Regions from separate parts of the Homo sapiens genome. Here region 2 is linked to region 1. Evidence: promoter capture Hi-C in human tissues and cell types (Jung and others, 2019). All regions are on one chromosome and are shown on one strand. Each heading gives the region's core, a stretch centred on a gene start or on the middle of the fragment in contact. The rest is flanking DNA. Distances are from core to core; before and after follow the strand shown.

The links. The method cuts DNA at HindIII sites, captures the fragments that hold promoters and counts their contacts. A contact is called where the count stands out against the background at its distance.
Region 2: a contact is called between a fragment that was not itself captured here and the fragment with the promoter of TRIM35 in region 1, in 2 of the 25 tissues and cell types used here (bladder and thymus).

Annotation. Positions count from the first base shown.
Region 1 is chr8:27,308,575-27,313,569 of GRCh38, forward strand. TRIM35 (tripartite motif containing 35) reads right to left here and starts at 2,698. Exons shown (of 6, transcript NM_171982.5): 1 at 2,227-2,698. The coding sequence starts at 2,661. It also overlaps a transcript of PTK2B not described here. RefSeq lists enhancers at 1,667-1,776, 2,177-2,396, 2,407-2,556 and a silencer at 2,707-2,916. The HindIII fragment of the contact is 16,679 bases long and covers 1-4,995 here.
Region 2 is chr8:27,554,506-27,559,500 of GRCh38, forward strand. No RefSeq gene overlaps it. Among named protein-coding and RNA genes, the nearest start is that of MIR6843, 54 kb to the right of the region's middle. RefSeq lists an enhancer at 230-730. The HindIII fragment of the contact is 4,745 bases long and covers 1-4,543 here.

The sequences.
Region 1 (4,995 bases), core at 1,448-3,947:
CACACAGAACTACATCTTGTCTATTGACTGTCTATGCCCCCTGCTCAAATGAGAATTCCATGAAGCTAAGAAGAGGCCACAGCACACAACAGCCATCAGTACCCATTTGTCTAGTAAATGAGTGATTTGCACCCTGCATCAGGCTGACCACACCTGGCTCTCATTCTTCTCAGATCCATTTGGGACTAGACTACTCAGCCCCTGACATCATCCTGAGTGTCCACTGACTTGACACCATCATTCTTCTGCTAAAACCCCCAGCTGCTGTTCACAGCAAGGGTGAGCCACCGGCCTCCTGGATCCTCCTGCACGTCCCTCCTCATTCTAACTACCCTTAAATTCCCTCAGTGCCTAGAAAGTCAGGCTTTCCCACTTCTGGACCCTTCCAAATGCTGCTGCCTCTATCTGAAATACCCTCTTTCACCTGGCTAACACCTCCTCTTCCCTCGGGTCTCTGCTGGAAGCTCCTTGAGGCTGGAAATGGTCTATCTTGTCTCCTGCAGTATCCCTGGGACCTTGCAGTACCAGGCATCTGCTGGTGCATGGCTCTCTGCTCTTGAATCCTGGCTTGGCCCCAGCCTGGGGGCTCTGCCTGGGTGTTCTCAGCCCTGACCCCAGCATCTCCTGATCAGCACCTCGGCCAGCCAAATAGGCATCAGTCATGACCTGAACCATGATCCCTCCTTTACCTGGGCCCCAGACCCCTGGCTGGCCAGCACTTATTCCAGCTGTCCCAAATCAGGATCTGTCACTTCTGCCAGTGGAAACAGGAAAAGCATTGACATGGACCCATGTTAAACAAAAAAGATGACAGGAGTAACAGGGTTACTCATTGAGACATGCGTACTGACAGCATCCTTACATTCCCCTTCAATTAAACTTTGTCAAATGCATTTGGAGCGGAACAGACTTCCGTATTTAAAAAGGTATTGCAAAAAAAGAAGGCAGGGCCACAGAGGGGGCCAGAAACCAGGCACAGGGGACTCGGGCAGCTCCTCCTCTCCAGTCCATGCAGCTTCGGGCCAGCTACCCAGTGTTCTCCCAATTGGGGCTCTGACTCATGCATTAGCAGGTGATGAAATAAATTCAATGTTTCACATTCTGGGTAATTTTTAAAAGTAACAGAGGCCAGGCGGAGTGGCTCACGCCTGTAATCCCAGTAGTTTGGGAGGCAGAGGAGGGCAGATCACTTGAGGCCAGGAGTTCCAGACCAGCCTGGCCAACATGGTGAAACCCTGCCTCTACTAGAAATTAAAAAAAAAAAAAAATTAGCCAGGCGTGTTGGTACATGCCTGTAATCTCAGCTACTCGGGAGGCTGAGGCACCAGAATCGCTTGAACCCAGGAGGCGGAGGTTGCAGTGAGCTAAGAGCACGCCACTGCACTCTAACCTGGGCGATAGAGGTCTCAAAAAAAAAAAAAAACAAAGGGAAGTAACAGAAAATATCAGAGTGCCATGGACATGTTCAGAAAACTTTTGTTTCAACTGATACATATGTTCTGGGTCACAAGGGAAAATGCATTGCTTCCTATGGGCTAAGATTAAACGTTTTGGAAAATGCTGAGTTAGGCTAACCCTTATCTTCTATTCATTTTTCCTTCCTATATCAAAGAATTCTCCATGTTAGTTTTGCCCTGTAAGTTGCTCCTGGGTTTATGTATAGTCACTAGAACTCTAGATATGGAGATGCTGCTTTATAAACCAGAATAGGCCAGCCAGCCAGGGTCAGAGACCTCTCACTCAGATAATACAAACCGCGGGATCAGCTTGGCAAGTAGGTGACTGGTTTGGGGGAAATCTTAAGACTCCACACCCCTGGCCAGGTCTGTGGCTCCTCCTCCACTTCTAAATTGAGTGTGCCAAGCTACAGGGCTCGTGGGCTGCACCCACATCCGTGCCGCTTAAAGGGACCTGGGCCACACCCGGCTGGCACAAGGGGTGCATGGCCTGGGCCCTTCAGAAGCAAGTGTCGCTGTCTTGGGAACATCATGTAACCTCATCTGTCACTTTCCGTTCGCATTCTCTTCTCCCAGCACGGGCCCCTGGGCCGACCTTGAAGAAGCAGCCAGCCCTGAGAACCTGGGTCGGAGAGGTGGGGTCCTGCATGCTGGGAGCGAGACGCGGGCACACTGGGCTCTGGCAGGCAGGAGGGGCGGGAGCCGCAGAGCCAAGGGATTCCGGGTTCCAGACCCGGCTCGGCCGCCTCGTGCAAATCGCTGCTCTTACCCGAAAGTCGTGGGCAGTGTCCTTCACCGGCTGCACGCGGTGCCCCTGGTGTCGGGGGTCGGCCTGGCAGGAGCAGCACAGCAGCTCCTTGTCCTCGAGGCAGAAGAGGCTGAGCTGTCCGCGGTGCAGGCGGCAGACACGCGAGAAGCGGTAGCTGGTCCAGCGCGCGCCCTCGGCCTCCTCGCGCAGCAGCTTCTCCACCAGGTTGTTGAGGGTGTGGTTGGTGCGCAGGTCGGCGGGTGACGCGCGGTCTTTGCACACTGGGCAGGTGGGCGACACCTGCACCTCCCAGCAGCGGCTCACGCACCCGCGGCAGAAGTTGTGGCCGCAGCGCAGAGTGACTGCGTCGCGGAAGGGGTCGTAGCAGACGGCGCAGAGCAACTCCTCCTTGAAGGAGCGGGAAGGCCCGGGGGACACGTCGGGACTCCGCTCCATGGCACGAGCAGCCGGCTCGGGCGCCCGGAACTTTTGCTCCGGCCCCTCCCACCCGCCCGGCTGCCAACGCCCGCGACCCGAGTGCTGGGAATCGCCCAGTCCCTTCCCCTGGAACGCTGAGAGACAGCGGCGCTGGCCAATCGTGCGGGGGGGATGGCGAGGGGGAGGGAGGGGGCGCTCGGAGGAGCCCCACCCACTTCCGGTGTGCGCGGGAAATCTTGGGAGAGCGGGGTGGGCCTTCTGCCCGCAGTTCCCGCCTCCTCAGGTCCGGGCGGGTCCCTGGCCGGGGTAGCACGGAAGGGTCTCCCAGGCGGCGTAGTAGGGCTTCCGTGTTACTGGAAACCTACTTCCGGCTGCAAATGGGAAAAGGAGCCTCTACCTTAACCAATCCCCGGGAACCTCAGGCCCGCGGATGGGAGAAACCAGAGATGCCAACTTCCTGCTTCCGAAGTAGTGGCTGGGTCTTAAAGCACCGTGAGTGCAATCACCACTTAAGTTTGCAGCGCCTTTTTGAGGACCTATGCCACTCTTGCATTAGTCGTTTACTTATTTTGGCCAGTCTTCTTCTGGCCCGCCGCGGTAAGGAGAAACAAGAGAGGGGTGGCGGCAGAAGAGCTCCGAGAAAACCTGATTCTTGTCCTGTGGTTGAAAAAGTGAACAGGTCATCATGTTTCAAAGTCCATTTACTCATGAGTACAATGGCTGTAATAGCTCTGTTTCCATGAAGTGTGAGGATAAAGTGAAATAAATGTGGAAAGTGCTCATGACAACCACTGTTTTAATGGGCAAGTGCCCATTAAAACAGTGAAATTGAGGACTTCTGCAAAGTTTAGCTGAGATAACTAGAGTTCATGCTCAATTCTTGCCAGGTACAGTAGGCCTGGATGGTTCCTTCAGATCTTCATTCCTGCTTCAGTTTGATCACTTTACAGCCTCCAGATGCAGAATACTTTTCACACGATGCACTTTCATTCCTTTTCTATTGGGAGACAATTCACATGTGTCATGTTCCTGCATGTCTTGAGAGAGCAGAGGCACTGACTGCCTTTTTCCAACTATCTTTTCAAGGATGTTTCTGCATTGAATAGCCCTGGAAGACAGAATTCTTGTCTCTCCAAAGATCTGGCAGACTTATTCCCAATTATAAGAGATGTGAGTTTCCTAAACTTGGGGCCCCTCTCCTGTAATGCAACCTACTGTAGCCTTCATCACATAGTCTTGCAAGAATTAGGGCTCAGAAACTGGCCCAATGACAATACTGTGACTACTATTATTGCTGTTAGTATTATCCTTTGTCTCTGACCCAGGAGTTTCATCTTTTAGCAGTATTCATGAAATTTTGGCATGCAAACTTGTTAGTGTTGAAACTCAGAAAACAATACCCCAAAATGGCCTCAAAAGCAGAAATTTTTCTCTGCCCTCCTATCTCTCAGTCCCCCAAGGATAGCCATAGAAATTAGAATTCCTTTTCCCCAAGGCAGGTCATAGAAACCAGAACCCCTTTTTCCTAAAGCCAGTCTTGAAACCTTAAAATATTACTCTTTCTCTCTGCCTTTCTGTGGAATAACTGGCCATAAAGAAATTATCTGACCTACCTTGTTTGACTGTAGGCCATAAGAGCCCGATTCCAGAGAGGGTCCTACCCCATACCTGTTAGGGGTAGAAGGTGTCTGAGTTAACAGCAGTGAATCTGTATGGGTCTGCAGCAACCTCAATTCTTGCCTCCTTGGAAGAAAGAATTAGACTGAGGGGCATGATATGGTTTGGCTGTGTCCCCACCCCAAATCTCATCTTGAATTGTAATCCCCATAATTCCCACGTGTCAAGGGAGAGACCAGGTGGAGGTAATTGAATCACAGGGGTGGTTTTCCCCCCATGCTGTTCTCCTGATAGTGAGTGAGTTCTCACGAGATCTGATGGTTTTATAAGTGTTTGGTAATTCCTCCTGTGTTCATTCTCCTTCCTGCAGCCTTGCAAAGGAGGTGTCTTGCTTCACCTTCACCTTCCACTGTGATTGTAAGTTTTCTGAGGCCTCGCCAGCCATGCGGAACTGTGAGTCAATTAAACCTCTTTCCTTTATAAATTACCCAGTCAGTCTAAGGCAGTTCTTTATAGCAATGTGAAAATGGACTAATACAGGGCATAAGGCAGAAAAAGCAACTGAGGCAAGTTTCAGAGCAAGAGTGGAAGTTTATTAAAAAGTTTGGGACAGAAAAGAAAGTACACTTGGAAGAGACCCAAGCGGGCAACTTGAGGGACAAGTGTGGCATTTAACCCTGATCCTGGGACTTCATATGCTGGCCCACTTCTGGAGTCTTGCTGCCCTCTCCCTTC
Region 2 (4,995 bases), core at 921-3,420, 250 kb after region 1:
CTCTGTTTTTTCCCCATCTTTGTGGTTTTATCTACTTTTGGTCTTTAATGATGGTGATGAACAGATGGGTTTTGGTGTGGATGTCCTTTCTGTTTGTTAGTTTTCCTTCTAACAGACAGGACCCTCAGCTGCAGGTCTGTTGGAGTACCCGGCCGTGTGAGGTGTCAGTCTGCCCCTGCTGGGGGGTGCCTCCTAGTTAGGCTGCTCGGGGGTCGGGGGTCAGGGGTCAGGGACCCACTTGAGGAGGCAGTCTGCCCGTTCTCAGATCTCCAGCTGCGTGCTGGGAGAACCACTTCTCTCTTCAAAGCTGTCAGACAGGGACATTTAAGTCTGCAGAGGTTACTGCTGTCTTTTTGTTTGTCTGTGCCCTGCCCCCAGAGGTGGAGCCTACAGAGGCAGGCAGGCCTCCTTGAGCTGTGGTGGGCTCCACCCAGTTCAAGCTTCCCGGCTGCTTTGTTTACCTAAGCAAGCCTGGGCAATGGCGGGCACCCCTCCCCTAGCCTCGCTGCCGCCTTGCAGTTTGATCTCAGACTGCTGTGCTAGCAATCAGCGAGACTCCGTGGGTGTAGGACCCTCCGAGCCATGTGCGGGATATAATCTCCTGTTGTGCTGTTTTTTAAGCCCGTTGGAAAAGCGCAGTATTCGGGTGGGAGTGACCCGATTTTCCAGGTGCCATCTGTCACCCCTTTCTTTGTCTAGGAAAGGGAACTCCCTGACCCCTTGCGCTTCCCGAGTGAGGCAATGCCTCGCCCTGCTTCGGCTCATGCACGGTGCACGCACCCACTGACCTGCGCCCACTGTCTGGCACTCCCTAGTGAGATGAACCCGGTACCTCAGATGGAAATGCAGAAATCACCTGTCTTCTGCATCGCTCACCCTGGGAGCTGTAGACCGGAGGTCTTCCTATTTGGCCATCTTGGCTCCTCCCCCGATGTAGAATATCTTTCATGTGCTTATTGACCATCTATATATATCTTTGAAATGTCCATTCAAGCCCTTTGTCTATTTTTTGTTGGGTTGTTTTGTGTTGTTGTTGAATGTTAAATCTTGTATATTCTGGATATTTATCCCTTATAAGATATATGATTTGCAAATATACTCTCCCATTCTGTGGGTTAGATTGTGTAGGGGTGGAAGGTATGATACTTCTTCTCACCCATCATAAGGGTCACGGCTGATTCTTCTATAGCAAAAGACAGTAAACAAGGGAAAAGCATACCACATTTATTTAATCACAATTTTACATGACAAGGGAGACTTCAGAAACGAAGACCCAGGAGAACTGTCTGTTTTCATGCTTGTGTTCTATGAAGAATGGACAGTCCTGTGGAAAAGTGATTGACAAAAGGCCATGACCTCATTGTAATAGACTAAGGGGGAACCCAGCAAGGCCTGTGTGCTCAGATTCTTCTTGGCCTTTCTGTATAGCATTCCTTCCTCCCAGGTATAGGGCAGGACCCCTCTGGAACGAGGGTCTTCAAGGGAGAGGGGAGAAAGTGATCTAAGTTTTATGGCTTGCTTTGGGGGAGAGGAGGTCTAGAGTCTATGACCACCTTGGGGGAAGAGGAATTCTAGTTTTTGTGACCCCATTTTGGGGAAGAAAGAGGACCAGAGACAGAAGGGCAGGAGAAGGTCCAATAGCCCATGCTTTAAGGCCCTTCCAATGTGACTATGTGGGCTTAAACGTCAGAGTTTCAAAGACAGAAACAATTTTTTGTTTGTTTGTTTTTGAGACAGAGTCTCTGTTGCCCAGGCTGGAGTGCAGTGACACGATCTCGGCTCACTGCAACCTCCACCTCCCGGGTTCAAGCAATTCTCCTGCCTCAGCCTTCCAAGTAGCTGGGATTACAGGTGCCCACCACCATGCCCAGCTAATTTTTTGTATTTTTAGTAGAGACAGGATTTCACCATGTTAGCCAGGCTGGTCTCGAACTCCTAACCTCAGGTGATGCACCTGCCTTGGCCTCCCAAAGTGCTGGGATTACAGGTGTAAGCCACTGCGCCTGGCCTGACAGAAACAACTTTTTATTTATGCAACTCAAAGTAAGAGAATTCCTGAGAAAGCCCCAAATAGTGGTGTTCATTTTCATTTGAAAGTATTAAGGGACAAATACATATTCATCCTCTTTATCAATTATCTTGGATTCAGATGGTAAAGGAAGTCTGAAGTACTTTAGGCAGCCTCGTCTACTTTGTCTCACATGTGCTGAAGGAACGTTATGCCCTGTGTTGTATTTTAAAGGGAACATGCTGGTGGAATGAGGCAAGGAAGAGAGACCTGCAGACCAGAAATGATTAAACACCCTTCACAATGTCCACAGTAAGGACACGGGTGTTTCACAGAAATGTGTTAGGTTCCCAGGTACAAATGGTGTATTAAGGAGCGCATTCTCAATGATTAACAAGTCTGGGAGGGGAAAAGATCTAAAAACAAGCCCTTCGGTGACCACTAAGGCAGCAACATTCATTTTCCTTGCCAAGAAATGTTTGTAAAAGTTAAGACTCAGCAAGTCCAGAACAGGCTAAGTCCTTCAGGCAAGAGGAAATAAATAACCCCTCGATCACAATCATGGGACGGTGGCAACACAGATCGAATGAACTGATTCACGTGATTTTTGCTGAGTTTCATATTCTCATGTAATTTTATTTTTTTCAATAAAGGCAGTTTATAAAATTGATGTGCTTGGCTTAGGGCGGGGGTAGGAGCATTCCATCCAAGGGCAGTAATGCCAGGTGAAGAAAGGAAACCTCCTGCATGGATCCAGGCTCTGGAAATTTCAGGGGAGAAGGGCAGAAAGTCCACAAGGGTCCCAGGGCTGTGGACTAGATCAGGCCCACTCACACCCCCCAACACTAGGCTCAAAATGTAGTCAAGAAAAAAGGAGCACTTGGACTGGACTATAGCTGAAAGGGGAATTTGTGGGTGGAGAGGAGAATGTACTTTCCTTAAAATTGTAAGGACAGGGTTTGAGAAGGAAGTGGGGAGTTAGAAAAGAAAATAACTTTTATCTGAGGAACACAATCCTTTTAATGGCCAGGCCCAAAGAGACATTAAAACGATATAGCAATCATGCCCTCCTCCCGGCTTTGAGCTCTGTCTCCATCTCTTGAAGCTGCTTGCTTCTGCCACAAGTACTTATAAATTAACCTAACGGTGCCACACTGGACACTCCGACCCATACCCTATAGCTTAACAACGTCTAGCTATTAGCTAACTAATCAGTGTTATTTCTGTAAAGCAAAGAGAAATCCTGACAATTTTGTATCAGTCCACTCCCTGTCCCCCTTTTTTGCCTTGAAAGTCCATCTGTAACTGCTGCTAATCAGAGTGTCTATTCAGGGCAACTTGAATCTATGCTCCCAGGTTGCAATTTGCAAGCTTGGCCCAAATAAACTCTCTACTCAGATTAATTTCGCTGCAGCTTCTTTCCTTTAGGGTCTGCAGAAGCAAGTCCTTGGTTTAGGGTGATACCAGGCTACACCTCTGCATGCCCTCCCCGCTTGCCAGGCGCCTCTCTGTCCCCAGGACTTGATACCAGTCAGTCCTTGTGTTGGCCACAGCCCCTGGGCCCCTTGCAGAGCTTTGGGACAGTGAGTGTGGAGAAGGGACAGCTGCTAACCTGACAGCTGCTTTCTCCAGTCTCAGCCCCAAGGCCCCCCCAACCCCAAGCCCTGCCTTTTCCAGCAGGGAGTCTGCGGTCCTGCGGGGATCTCTGCCCCTGGGCCATGGAGCTGGCAGTTCTGGGGCCCTGCAGGCCCTGCCCCTTCCTCAGGGACAGCCCCAAGTGCGCAGACGCAAAGGGAAGAGTCCTGGCCTTGCCCTATTCTCTCCTGAGGCCCTGACCCCAGGCTCTCCGGCTCGCAGACACGATCTGCTATGGCTGCCATAACAAAGTCCCACAGATCAGGTAACTTAAACAGACGTTTGTGTTCTCACAGTTCTGGAGGCTGGAAGGCTGGGATGAAGGCATCAGCAGGGCTGGTGCCTTCTGAGGCCTCTCTCCTCGGCTTGTAGACAGCCACCTTCTCCCTGAGTCTCCTTCTCATGGTCTTCCTCCGTGTGTGTGTCCTGAGCTCTTCTTATGAGGAGACCAGTCACATTGGACAAGGGCCCTACCATCTGTGCTACAGCCACCAATATCCTGTCCTGTCTCCATAACAGTGGAGCGGGGGCTTGGCTTGGTCACCCCCCAGGTCTGGCAAGGGAACGAACACACACAGGGACCCAGGCTTCAGCTGCACAGGCCTGTGCCCTCCTCCAGCCCAGGGTGCTGTGGCAGCCCCACATCAAGACCCCCCAGCACCCCCAACATCACAGCCTCCCCTGATCTATGATGCTAAGTACCTAGTTAGAGGCTGGGGGTGTGTCATTTGGCTCCAGAATCCCTAGGATTGGGGTCAGAGTTCAGAGAGCTAAACCCTGCCCTCCCACCTTCCCTCAGAGAGGGAGCCCAGGGCGGGAGGCAGACCTGAGCATCTGTTTGTTTATGGCCTTAATCCTGCCTGAGTGGAACCTGTCAATGCTGCTCACTTGCCTCTTGCCAGAGCCCCCTCTCCACTTCTCAGGAGCAAGAGCAGTGAGCAGGGCCCCGAAAGATAGACTCACCATGACAAATACAGAAAGGTGCAAGGTGGCATTTAGCTGACTTTACAGATGAGGAACTAAGGATCAGAGAGGGTGAGTGATTTGCCTGGGGTCGCAGAGCCAATCAGCAGCAGGGCTGGGCACAGACTCAGGACTGATGCCAACTCTGTGCTCAGTTACTGTCCATGCAATTGAGCCAGTACCTGGTGAGTGCCCCCAGGTGCCTGCCAGCGAGTCAGGGTGCCGGACAGGTGTGCTGCATGTTACTCCCATTCTCACCTGCTGGGGCCAGCTTCCCTCAGCTGTAATTTTTGCCAGATAATCTCCCCTTCCTCTATGCCTGCTAGAAAGGCTCTGGGATTCTCTCTGCTATTTCCTTATTTGCTCAGGCTGATGGTCTCTAACTTGTA